Regions from separate parts of the Homo sapiens genome. Here all the other regions are linked to region 3. The links are contacts of gene promoters, found by promoter capture Hi-C in human tissues and cell types (Jung and others, 2019). All regions are on one chromosome and are shown on one strand. The core of a region is centred on a gene start or on the middle of the fragment in contact, and the rest is flanking DNA. Distances in the headings are between cores, read along the strand shown.

Region 1 (4,597 bases), core at 1,752-4,251, 200 kb before region 3:
ATTATGACTGTATTTCATATGTTCAAGAAGCAAGAAAAAAGGCTGGTCCTGAAAGATATAAAGACATGGATATGAAAAACATAAAAATCAAACTTCTAGAAATGGAAACTACAATATCTGGGGTAAAAAGCCTACTAGATGGGGTTCATAGCAGATTAGATATTGCCCAAGAAAAGATTACTGCTATAAACTGAATTGTGTCCTTCCACCTCAATTCATATATCAAAACGCTCACCCAGAATGTAATGGTATTTAGAGAAGAGGCCTTTGGAAGATAATTAGAGTTAAATAAAGTCATGAGGATTGGGGCTTCATGATGTGATTAGTACCCTTATGAGAAGAGGAAGAGAGGGCGATTACTTGCTCTTTGCCATGTGTGGATACAGTGAGAAGATAGCTGTTTGCAAGCCAGGAAGAGGGCCTCCATCAGGAACTGAGTTGGCTTCCCAGCCTCCAAAACTGTGAGAAATACATGTCTGTGGTTTAAGCCACCTAGTAACCTGGGCTGACTAAAATAATTAGTAAATTTGAAAACATAGCAAAGAAACTATCCAAATGAAACACAGAGATAAGAAAAAAAAATGTAATGAAAGAGAGTCTAAGTGAACTATGGGACATGTTTAAGTGTGTGTGTATATATATACACATACATACATATATACATATGTATATATATACACACATGTGTATATATACACATATGTATATATACACATGTGTGTATATATATACATATGTGTGTATATATACATATGTGTATACATATATATATACACACACACATACAATTAGAGTCCGTGTGGGAGACAGAGGAGCACAGAAAAAATATTTGAAAAGTAATGGCTGAAAACTTTTCAAATTTGTTATAAACCATAAATATGTATATTTGAGAAGTTCAGCAAACCCCAGGAAAATAACTTGAAGAAAAATGTAAGGTACATCATAACCATATTGCTGAACACTAGTGAGAAAGATAAATCTTAACAGCAGCCAGAGGAAAAAAGATACATAACAGAAACAGAAACAAGGTTAAGGATGATGGCAAATTCTCACCAGAAACAATTCAAACCAGAAGACAGTGCACTTTGTTTAATGTACTGAAAGAAAAAAGTATGTCAACTTAGAATTCTGTACCCAGTGAAATTATCTTCCAAAAATCAAGGCAAAACAAAAACATCTTAAGACACAAAAACTGAAAGAAGTAATCACCAGCAGACCAACAATAAATAAATGTTGAAGCAATCCTTCACGCAGAATAAAAATGATACCAAATGAAAATCTGATCTGAATAAAAAAATGTAAACAAAGAACACTAAAAATGGTAACAAAAGAACACTAAATCCAATATTTATGAGAATGAAGATGAAAGTCATTTTTAAATTATTGAAGACTTTTTAAAAGATAATTGTTGGCTGGGCGCATGGCTCATGCCTATAATCCCAGAGCTTTGGGAGGCCGAGGCGGATGGATCACAAGATCAAGAGATTGAGACCATCCTGGCCAACATGGTGAAACCCCATCTCTACTAAAAATACAAAAATTAGCCAGGCATGGTGGCGCCTGCCTATAATTCCAGCTACTTGAGAGGCTGAGGCAGGAGAATCGCTTGAACCCGGGAGGCGGAGGTTGCAGTGAGACAAGATGGCGCCACTGCACTCCAGCCTGGGGAGGGAGCGAGACTCCATCTCAAAAAATAAAAAATAAATAAAAATAACTGTCTAGAGAAAAAATAATAAAATAATAACAATATATGTGAAGCTGTTATATGTTATATACATAGGAGAAAAATGTATGACAAAGATAGCACAAAGGCCAGGAGGGGAGAAATATTCTAAATTTCTCATACAATATGTGAAGTAAAGGACGTATACTATAAATCTTAAAACAATTACTGTAACAACACAAGAAAGTTACAGCTAATAAGCCAACAAAGGGGATTAAATTGAATCGTTAGAAATAATGAGTGCAATAGAAGAGAGGAAAAAGAGGAAAAATGACAGAAGGAAAAAATAGAAAACAAGTGCAAGATGGTAGATTCAAACCTCAACTATATCAATCATAATATTAAATGTAGGTGGTATAGCACCAGAATGAAGAGGCAGAGATTGTCAGATAGGATTAAAAAGTAAGGCCCAACTTAGTCCAACAAGAACACTTAATGATTCTAAATATATATGTACCCAACATTGCAGCACCCAGATTTATAAAACAAGTTCTTAGAGATTTATGAAGAGATTTAGTCAACCGCACAATAATACTGCAGGACTTTGACACTGCACTGACAGTGTTAGACAGACCATTGAGGCAGAAAACTAACAAAGATATTCTAAGCTTAAAGTTGACATGACCAATTGAACCTAATAGACATCTACAGAGCACTCCACCCCACAACAAAATATACATCCTCCTCATTTGCACACAGCACATACTCTAAGACTGACCACAAGTTTGTTTACAAAGCAAGTCTAAACAAATTCAAAAAAACAGAAATCGTATCAAACACACTCTCAGACCATGGCACAAGAAAAATAGAAATCAATAGCAAGAAGATCCATCAAAACCATACAATAACATGGAAGTTAAACAACTTGCTCCTGAATGACTTTTCAGAATACAATTAAGGCAGAATTTTAAAAAATTCTTTGAATCTAATGAAAACAGACACACAACATACCAGAATCTTTGGGACACGACTAAAATGGTGCTAAGAGGAAAGTTTATAGTGCTAAACACTTACATCAAGAAGTTAGAAAGATCTCAAATTAGCAACCTAACATCACACCTAGAGTAACTAGCAAACCAAGAGCAAACCAATCCCAAAACTAGCAGCAGAAAAAAAAAAATCATAACTAAACTGAATGAAACTGAGATGTAAAAATAGATACAAAAGCTCAACAAAACCAAAAGTTAGCCATTCAAAAGAGTAAACAACATTGATAGACCACTAGCTATATTAATAAAGAAAAAACAGAGGAGATCTACATAAACACTATCAGAAATGGCAAAGACAACTTTACAACTGACCCCCCAAAAATACAAAAGATCCTCAGAGATTATTATAAACACCCCTATGCACACAAACTAGAACACCTAAAAGAAATGGACAAATTTCTGTAAACACACAGTCTCCCAAGATCGAACCAGGAAGAAATTAAAATCCTGAACAGATCAATAGTAAATTTTGAAACTGAATCTGTAATAAAAGGCCTACCAAACAAAAAAGCCCTGAGCCAGACGGATTCACAACTGAATTCTGCCAGACATACAAGGAGCTAGTACCAATCCTACTAAAACTATTCAAAAAAATTGAGGGGGAAGAACTCTTCCCTAACTTATTCTATGAAGCCAGCATCATTCTAATACCAAAGCTTGGTAGAGACATAACGAAAAAAGAAACCTTCAGGCCAATATCTCTGATGAACATAGATGCAAAAATCTTTAACAAAATACTAGCAAACCAAATCCAGCAGCATATCAAATAGTTAATTCACCACAATCAAGTAGGCTTTATCCCTGGGATGCAAGGTTGGTTCGACACACACAAACCAGTGTGATTCACCATATAAAGAGAATTAAAAACAAAGATCACATGATCATCTCAAAAGATGCAAAAAGGCTTTCAATAAAATTCAACATCCATTTATGTTAAAAACCCTCAACAAATTAGGCATCAAAGGAACATACCTCAAAATAGTAAGAGCCATCTATGACAAACCCACAGCTAACATCATACTCAGAGACTATTATGAGATGTAAAATAATACTGGGGGAATGGCAAAAGCTGGAAGCATTCCCTTTGAGAACTGGAACAAGACAAGGATGCCCTTTCTCACCACTCCTATTCAACATAGTACTTGAAAGTCCTAGCCAGAACAGACAAAAGAAAGAAATGAAAGGCATCCAAGTAGGAAGAGAGGAAGTCAAACTATCTTTGCAGATGATATGATTCTATACCTAGAAAACCCTGCAGACTCCACCAGAAAGCTTATAAAACTGATAAACAACTTCAGTAAAATTTCTGGATACACAATCAATATGTAAAAATCAGTAGGATTTCTTTTTTTTCTTTTCTTTTCTTTCTTTTTTGAGATGGAGTTTCACTCTGTTGCCCAGGCTGGAGTGCAATGGCGAGATCTCGGCTCACTGCAACCTCCGCCTCCTGGGTTCAAGGGATTCTTCTGCTTCATCCTCCCAAGTAGGTGGGATTACAGGCATGTGCCACCATGCCTGGCTATTTTTTTTCTGTCTTTTTAGTAGAGACGGGGTTTCTCCATGTTGGTCAGGCTGGTCTCGAACTTCTGACCTCAGGTGATCTGCCCCCTTTGGCCTCCCAAAGTGCTGGGATTATAGGTATGAGCCACTGTGCCCGGCCCAATCAGTAGGATTTCTATACACCAATGACATTCAAGCTCAGAGCCAAATCAAGAATGCTAACCCATTCACAGTAGCCACAAAAATATAAAATACCTAGGAATACAGCTTACCAAGGAGGTGAAAGATCTCTACAATGAGAATTATAAAACATACTGAAAGAAATCTGGGATGACATGAATAAATGGAAAAATATTCCATGTTCATTCATCGAAAAAATCAATGT
Region 2 (4,050 bases), core at 1,521-4,020, 180 kb before region 3:
CCATGATAAACACGATGCCCCTTGTTGGAGCATGAACTTTCTTGAGGGATTTGAGGGACAAAAGTAACACAGGTTTTTTATCAAAATTAAAAAAGAAAAACTGTTATAGAACCAAATGTAGAGCTTAAAAATATTTTTATGGTAAGGCGCAATCACCCATTCTCTCTTCTTATTATGAACTAAATTTTGTGTTCCCTTCCTCACATTCACATATAGAAGCCCAAACGGCCAATATGATGGTATTTGGAGGTGGGGCTTTGGGGAGGTGCCTAGGTTTAGATGAAGTCATGAGGGGGAAGCCCCCTTAATGGGATTAGTGTCCTTGTAAGAAGAGGAAGAGGCTGGGTGCCGTGGCTCACACCTGTAATCCCAGCACTTTGGGAGGCCGAGGTGGGTGGATCACCTGAAGTCAGGAGTTCAAGACTAGCCTGGCCAAGATGGTGAAACCCCGTCTCTACTAAAAATACAAAAATTAGCTGGGCGTGATGGTGTGTGCCTGTAATCCCAGCTACTCGGGAGGCTGAGGCAGGAGAATCACTTGAACTTGGGAGACAGAGGTTGCAATGAGCTGAGATCATGCCACTGCACTTCAGCCTGGGCAATAGAACAAGACTCTGTCTAAAATAAAAAATAATAATAATAAATAAATAAAATAAAATAAAGAAGAGGAAGAGTCTGGAGCTTTCTATCTCTCCAGCATGGGAGGAACCAGCAAGAAGTCAGCTGACTGCTACCTGGAAGAGGTCCATCACCAGGACCTGACCAGGCACCTTGATCTTGGACTTCCAGCTCCATAACAGTGAGAAATAAATGTCTGCACCAACCCAGTTGATGGTATTTTGCTGTGGCAGCCCAAGCTGACTGAGGCATTCTTATCTCAGCCAGGGTTTGCTCTCCTCTGCCATCAGATTAATATCATTTGAACAGTTTTAAAATCACTAGTCTGGATAGTGGTTTCCAAATTTTTCTTCTGTGCTTACTACTCTCCCATTATCAAAAGGCTTATTATGCCCCTTGCCATGTCATAAAACCACTTCAAACCCTTTTAACATAGTCTATGGTTGATGATTGTCAAACTTTACAGATCGGGGGGTTTTTAGAATTAAATTTTGAATTATGTGTTATACACGCTTTCCTAATCTTTCTATATTCCTTATGGACTGTCAGGCCTCTGAGCCCAATCTAAGCCATCATATCCCCTGTGACCTGCACGTATACATCCAGATGGCCTGAAGTAACTGAAGAATCACAAAAGAAGTGAAAATAGTCTGTTCCTGCCTTAACTGATGACATTCCACCACAAAAGAAGTGAAAATGGCCAGTCCCTGCCTTAACTGATGACATTACCTTGTGAAATTCCTTCTCCTGGCTCATCCTGGCTCAAAAGCTCCCCCACTGAGCACCTTGTGACCCCCCACCCCTGCTAGCCAGAGAACAACCCCCTTTGACTGTAATCTTCCACTACCCACCCAAATCTTATAAAACAGCCCTGCCCCTATCTCCCTTCGCTGACTCTCTTTTCAGACTCAGCCTGCCTGCACCCAGGTGATTCAAAAGCTTTATTGCTCACACAAAGCCTGTCTGGTGGTCTCATCACACGGAAATGGACTAGTTGACTCCCCATGAGAAAAGAGCAGGTGACTGCTCATCCACTGAGAAAACAGATATTTCACATTTGAGACCGGAGGGCTGCTAGGCCCAGGTGAGTATCTGACCCTGTGTTCCATTCATTTGTTTCTCATCCTGACCACTAGTAGAGAGCCCTGTTATTCTGCTGTTCCGGGAATCCAATTTGGTTTTTCAGTCCCTCAGCTGCTGGGGACTCCAACTGTCATTATAAGTGTATCCTCACTTGTTATGAGTTGAATTGTGTCCCTTCAAGATACATGTATTGAAGCCCTAGCCTCCAGTGCCTCCGAGTGTGACTCCTGTGTATTAGAAATGGGTCTTTAAAGAGATTATTAAGATGATCCCATTAGGGTAGGCCCTAATCTGATATGGCTGGTGTCCCTATAAGAAAAGGCAATTTGGACACCAGGGACCAACAGGGATGCGTGCACAAAGAGGAAAGACCACATGAGGAAAGAGAGAAACATCTGCAAGTCAGGGAGACAGGCCTTAGAAGAAACCAGTCCTTCCCACACCTTGATCTTGGGCTTCAGCCTCCAGAACTGAGAAAACAAATTTTTGGTGTTTAAATCACTCCATCTGTGAGAATTCATTACGGTGGCCTGAGCCTACTAATACATTATACTAGGAAACCAGCTTTAGTTCTTCAACTGTCTGTAATTTCTGGTTTTCTTAAATGCTAAGAAACAGAAAATTGCCTCTCACATTTCTCATTAAAAACTACTGCTTGGCTCTCCATCTTTGACGTGTAGTGTCAAGAATGAGCCTTCATTGTCTGCAAGTGTTTGTGATACCTGATTTATCAATGCATGTTGCTATTGGGTAGAGGATCATCTTGCTCTCATAGCTAATACTGATCAGGGAGAGAGTCATGGTCTGACTAAGTGTACCCAAGTACACTTAGCAGGTTAGTCCTTAGTCCTGGGTGCTTAGGAAACAATGACTAGCAGCCCAATTTCTCTTTCAGTCTCCCTCTCTCTCTCTCTGTGTGTGTCTGTGCGTGTGTGTGTGTCCTCACAAAGTTCCAGCAGCATTGCCTTGGGGATAGGAGTACAATCGCAATACTCTGAGATGCTAGCATGTCATGAAGGAAGGACAGAGCCACTAGTCAGAAGCCTAGATAGAGACTGTGCAAAGAGGAAGTAAACAGGGGCTTGTTAAAGAGATAGATGGGGCTGGGCGTGGTGTCTCACGCCTGTAATTCCAGCACTTTGGGGAAGCAGGCGGACCACTCAAGGTCAGGAGTTCGAGACCAGTCTGGCCAACATGGTGAAACCCTGTCTTTACCAAAAATACAAAAATTAGCCAGGTATGGTGGCACACACCTGTAGTCCCAGCTACTCAGGAGGCTGAGGCTGGAGAATTGCGTGAACCTGGGATGTGGAGGTTGCAGTGAGCTGAGATCGCACCACTGCACTCCAGCCTGGGCAACAGAGGGAGACTCCATCTAAAAAAAAAGAAAAAAGAGAGAGAGATAGATGGGGAAAAAGTCATTGGCCAAAGTCACAGCCTTACCTTCACTAGAAATCCATGAGCATCAGGCTGGAAGAGTTTACCTGGAGAGTGGGAAGAAAACGGATTGGAAAAACAAGAGAATAGCGAACCATGCAAGGATTATTCTCAGGTTGGTTAGTGACTGCAGCATTTTATTTTAGGCGTCCTGGCCTCACAATAAATTGTTTTTAGTATAAGTATGCCCCATGATATATTTGGGACATGCTTATACTAAAATTATTTGTTGTTCATCTGAAATTCAAATTTAACTGAGCATCCTAAGTTTTACATGGCAATCTTACCCAAGAGCTGATTCTCCACATAGCCAGAGAAATCTTCATGAAATCATGCAACTTCGAAGAGCCAAGCCTTTCATTCTCCCTCAAATTCAAGGTCCAAATCTTTGCCATGGTCTGCAAGGCTGGTCATGCTCATCCCCCCAACCTATCTCTTACCACTCTCTGCCTTGCCTATTACAGTCTTTGCTCAAAAGTCACCTACTGGATAAGGCCTTTCCTAGTGACCTTCTCTAAAATAGCCGGCCTCACCTGATAAGATCTATGCCTTTATTCATAGCACAAATGACTCGTGAAATGTGATGTGCCCATTTGTTATTGGATATCTTCCTTATCAGAATGTAAGCTCTGCAGGCTAAGTCTGCATTTCGCATTTCTTTTGCTTCCGTATTCTCAGCATTTGGAGCTCTACCTGACAGATGATACATTCTTAACAAAGAGTTGTGGAAAGAATAATTGAACCAGGATTCCATAATCAATATGCAGCAAAACTTAGCACATTGGTGCCAACTAGCACTTAGTAAGCTGGAATCTGCCTATGATTTTTAAGTGAATCAAGTAAAAATAATTCTAAAGATTATTAATGTTTCTAGCCTCCTTGGAGAATCAACAAAAACAAGAGTTAAGAAAC
Region 3 (4,462 bases), core at 37-2,536:
CATTTGAGTTGTGACCTCAAGTGTAAGGATGCAGACAACATAGAAGATCCTGGGACAAAAAGCATTTCAGGCACAGAGAATAAGAAAGTTACCCTGTAACTGAATATAAATATTTGGTATGACTGTAAAATAATTAAACAGATGCTCATTTTTGTAGACTGTTTGCTCCTTATTTTAGGACCAAGCCTCCCATAGCCTGTTTCCCTCTATGAGAGACTGAGAACACCCTTAGGCTGGTCCAGATTTTACACTTTTCAGAGCAACCCCTTCCCCAACACACACGTGCACACTCTGGCACGGCCACCTGCATGCCAAGGGGTGACTGCAGGCTGATCTTCCAAGTGGCTCTCATCAGTAGCTGTACCCTTAATCCAGGGCTGTGTATAGGGAGATTTACATTTCTTCCTCGCTGTTGGGGCCGTCTGCCTGCTAGCGACGATTCTACACTAACGGCTACATAAATTACTGTCATTAAAGTTGGGTCCTTGGGTCCCCAGAAACCTAACTAGAGGCAAAGGAGGAACCAACTAAGAGAGGTCCAGGTAACAGAGCCCGGAGCGGGACGGTCATTTGTTGCAGGCCCCTGGGGTATGTGCCTGTCTATCGCGCACCGGGTCCCAGCAGCAGTGGTTACCGGCTGAGAAGGGCTGGGTTCCCAGGACGCTGCGGGTACCTCATGCTATCACCATAGCCGGGAATCCAGTTTTCTGGTTCCCCTCGTCTGTATTTGCCTAAGGCGACTTGCCGCCGTTCCTCTGTCCCCTAGGCAGGGAGAAGTCAGCTCTAGGACACCCTGCAAAACGCCTCGAGGGGTTATCTGCCCCTTCCCGGCCGCGTCCTGGCACCGTTTCCCCATCACCCGGAGGACTGAGCGCTGTCTCAGGGCGCCCTCTGTCTCTTCCAGGGGGCAGCCAAGACGACATGCCCTGCGTCTCAGGGACGCGGTACGAGCCCTGGTATTCCCCCCGCCACCTCACACACCCCCATCCGGGAGACCCACGTGCAGCTGGGCCCGGGCTGGCGCCGCACCTCGGGGTCTGCGCGTCTCCCCGGCGCGTTCCGGGCGCAGCCCCACGACACGGACCCCTGGCGGGGCGGCATCCGAGAAGTCGCAGGCGGAGAGGGGGCGTCCTGGAGGCCGGGCGCGGGGACGCTGCGGCCCGCGGCCACACAAAGGAGGCGGCGGGAAGGCGGGGCAAGGCGGGCCGGGGGCGGGGGCGGCAGGAAGGGGCGGGGGCCCGCGCGGCGCCGCCGATAAAGCCCCCGCCGCCGCGGCAGCCAGCTTGCGCTGTGGGGCTGCCCGGGCTGCGCGGCGTCTGCAGGCGCCACCGCTGCCTCTTTCCGGCTGTGACCCTCCTCGCCGCCGCCGCTTGGCTGCGTCCTCCGACTCCCCGCGCCGCCGAGACCAGGCTCCCGCTCCGGTTGCGGCCGCACCGCCCTCCGCGGCCGCCCCCTGGGGATCCAGCGAGCGCGGTGAGTACAGGCTGCGCGGTGAGTCCCGGGCGCGGCCGGCGCTGCCCTCGGCGGGGGACGCTCCCCGGGGCTCCGCGCGCCACCGGCCCTGCTCCCTGACCTTGCGCCCGGCCGGGAAGCTGCGGGGCCAGCGGGACCCTGGGGCGCCGACGTCGGGGAGCAGAGAACTTTCTCAGCCTCCCGCGGGCCGCCTTGGCCGGGGCTGGGTGCTCGCCGGGCATCCCGGTCCCGCCCGCCGGGAGCCCCGAGCGGGACCCGGGCAGGGCAAGGCGGGGCCGCCCCGGGGTGGCGTCCAGTGATACCCGCAGCTGGGAGCACCGGGGCCGGCGTGGCTCCTGCCCGGCCATCCGAGCCGGCCCTGACCCTGAACCTGAGGTTTCCAGCTGCTCGCCGGCAACCCCTACCCCGGACTTAGGCTGCGCGCCGCCGGATGGGGAGAGACTGGCGCACTCTTACTTGTTACCTCTGCCTGGGCAGAGGGAGGTGACGCGCGGTGTGGGGAAAGCCTTTAACTTGGCCTCTGGCAGCCGATTTAACCCGAGCGAGCAGGTCTTTGCTATTTTCATCATCTGTAGAAACGGGAGTTGCGAGGCGGATGAGTGACTGCAGGTAAAATGAAAGTACGGTACTCAGAAATTCTGGAAGGAATTAGGCATTTAATGTGTCCACAAACTGAGCGGGGAAGGAAGGCTTCTATTACATAAGACAGCACTCCACCTTCAGGTATTATGGAAGATGCTGTTGAAGGTTTTAGTGTTTTAATGAACGAAACACATTCTTTGTGTGTGTGTCTCTGGAGAAATCTCGAATGCTGCTGTCTTGCTTTGGCTACTTTGCAGGGGACGTTCTTATATTTAGCATCAGCATAAAAAGGTGTTCGAAGGTGTGACTTCCTCTTTCAAGCCAAGAAGCCGTTTATTTGTCTGAATTGTTGTGGAACAATATATGTGATAATTGTGTACTTTGAAGATTTTATATCAAAACTTGAGCACAGATAACTGGAAGAATTGTCAACATTGCTAATTTGTATATCCTAAACCACACTTCGAAAATTGAAGACAGTTTCAACACTATCTGAAGGTCTAAATCAGTACTTATTTGCTATTTGCAGTATTTCAATAGAAAAATTTTTGGCTATGCAAATGAAGGTACTAACCTGAGTAATCTAAGGTTTCTTTTAACCCCCAAATTTTGATTCTTTGTTAAAATAATGTTTGAAAATATCGTACCATGCAGGGCAATTACTGAAGGTCATGAAAATGTCATCGTATTTTATTCTAAAAACAAAAATGAATCTATGCAGAAAATTTCCGTGTCCCATGAACTTCATATTAGTTTAATTTTAAAAGTACTGTCTCCAAAAAAAGCTAATTTTCACTTCCACACAAGGGTGATTAAATACCAGTCAGAGATTGTTTGAGGTGGTAGAGTTGGAAATGAGGTGGTGACCTGGCCACGTCCCTGGGTGCATCTCAGCCTTGCTGTCCTCTTCCAGCCAGTTCTTTTCCCATCGCATGGGGACTTTGGCTCTTGGGCTATTTCTCCTCCTCTAGACCTAAAGTCCATGTGGGGGACGCTCTAGATGCGCACTTCCTTGACTGTCTCAAATCCAGTGTCTTCCATGTACTCCAGCTACCAAGTCCTCTAAGTACCTCCAAGTCTTGCCCTCTCTTGAGATGCTCAACTTCTGAAAACTCTTAGTGCCTCCAACCCGCAAGCTCCTTCCTTCCGGGTTGCAAACCGGACTCCCACTGTAATCTTCAATGCAAGCGATCTCCAATGCTTTTCCTCTTGCGGGTTTGGCAGGTGACTTTGTAGCCCATTCTACCAGGAGAATAGAGGTCATAAGTATCTCCTCACGTCCTCCCCCATCTCCCCTGTACAGACTTTTCTGTGTTTACCCAGTCATCCAATAAATCTTCTTAAGCATCTACTGTGTCTGGGTACTTTGTTGGATACTCATAGGTGGTAAATAGAGCAGATCCTTGCTCGCTTGAAACTGTCATTCTTGTGGGAGAAAACCAACTAAAAGCAAACATAATATGTTGTAAAATGTATGATAAATGAATAAGGTAGAATTATAAAGAAAAATCAAGTTAGACTGAGAACTTAGAGAAATATAGAGAGATGGCCTCCTTGGGGCAGTGACTAATGTCTCCAGCTGTGTCCTGAATCCCAACTCCCAGTGCCTCTCTCTCCTTGTGAGTGTTACTCCCTTTTCTTACTTTTATCTTCAGTCTCTCCCTGTGAGCTTTTTTCTTTTTTAGTAGTATTTTAAGAATGCCTTAACCTCCCTTGTCCCTGCATCCTCAGCTCACCTGTAGTGACAACCACGTCTCTCCAGGCTTCTTAAACTGGTCTGCCCTTCCTGTTCAGCTCTTTGCAAGCTGGCCAGAGTCTCCTCAAAGTTCAAGGCCTGTGACTTCCTGAACAAGCAATCTTTTTTTTTTTTTTTTAATTTTTATTAATATGCTTTAAGCTCTGGGGTACATGTGCAGAACGTGCAGGTTTGTTACATAGGTATACACGTGCCATGGTGGTTTGCTGCACCCATCAACCCATCACATTAGGTATTTCTCCTAATGCTATCCCTCCCCTACCTCACTCCCCGCCCCCCACCACAGGCCCCAGTGTGTGATGTTTCCCTCCCTGTGTCCCTGTGTTCTCATCTGAACAAGCAATCTTATGGATACCCACTAGGTTTCTCCGTGGCATTTGATGAGGTTCTTCTATTCCTTTCTGATGGTTTTTTTTTTTTTTTCCATCCCTGGTTGCCACCTTCTGGTTTTCCTTATTCCTCCCTGGCATCTCTGCTACCTCTTGGGGTTACCCAGGGTTCGCTGTCATCCCTTTTGTGCTCTGTGTATTTGGGTGAACCATGTTCCCACAGCTTCGACTCTCACCAATATGAAGCGAGTCCCAGATTGGCATGTTAAGCTAGCTTGAGCATGCTCCTGTGTTCCAATCAGTTACCTGCAGTCTGGTGCGC

Evidence for each region. Contacts are between HindIII fragments. The study calls those that stand out against the background at their distance.
Region 1: a contact is called between a fragment that was not itself captured here and the fragment with the promoter of SERPINE2 in region 3, in 3 of the 25 tissues and cell types used here (H1 embryonic stem cells, heart right ventricle and small bowel).
Region 2: a contact is called between a fragment that was not itself captured here and the fragment with the promoter of SERPINE2 in region 3, in 1 of the 25 tissues and cell types used here (mesendoderm cells).

Annotation. Positions count from the first base shown.
Region 1 is chr2:224,232,851-224,237,447 of GRCh38, reverse strand. No RefSeq gene overlaps it. Among named protein-coding and RNA genes, the nearest start is that of FAM124B, 170 kb to the left of the region's middle. The HindIII fragment of the contact is 4,499 bases long and covers 752-4,597 here.
Region 2 is chr2:224,213,247-224,217,296 of GRCh38, reverse strand. No RefSeq gene overlaps it. Among named protein-coding and RNA genes, the nearest start is that of SERPINE2, 180 kb to the right of the region's middle. RefSeq lists enhancers at 992-1,769, 1,770-2,546, 2,547-3,324. The HindIII fragment of the contact is 5,701 bases long and covers 1-4,050 here.
Region 3 is chr2:224,036,110-224,040,571 of GRCh38, reverse strand. SERPINE2 (serpin family E member 2) reads left to right here and starts at 1,286. Exons shown (of 9, transcript NM_001136528.2): 1 at 1,286-1,473. It overlaps LOC124907991 (a long non-coding RNA gene), which reads right to left and starts at 1,170. Exons shown (of 2, transcript XR_007088103.1): 1 at 1,030-1,170. RefSeq lists a silencer at 826-1,120. The HindIII fragment of the contact is 16,007 bases long and covers 1-4,462 here.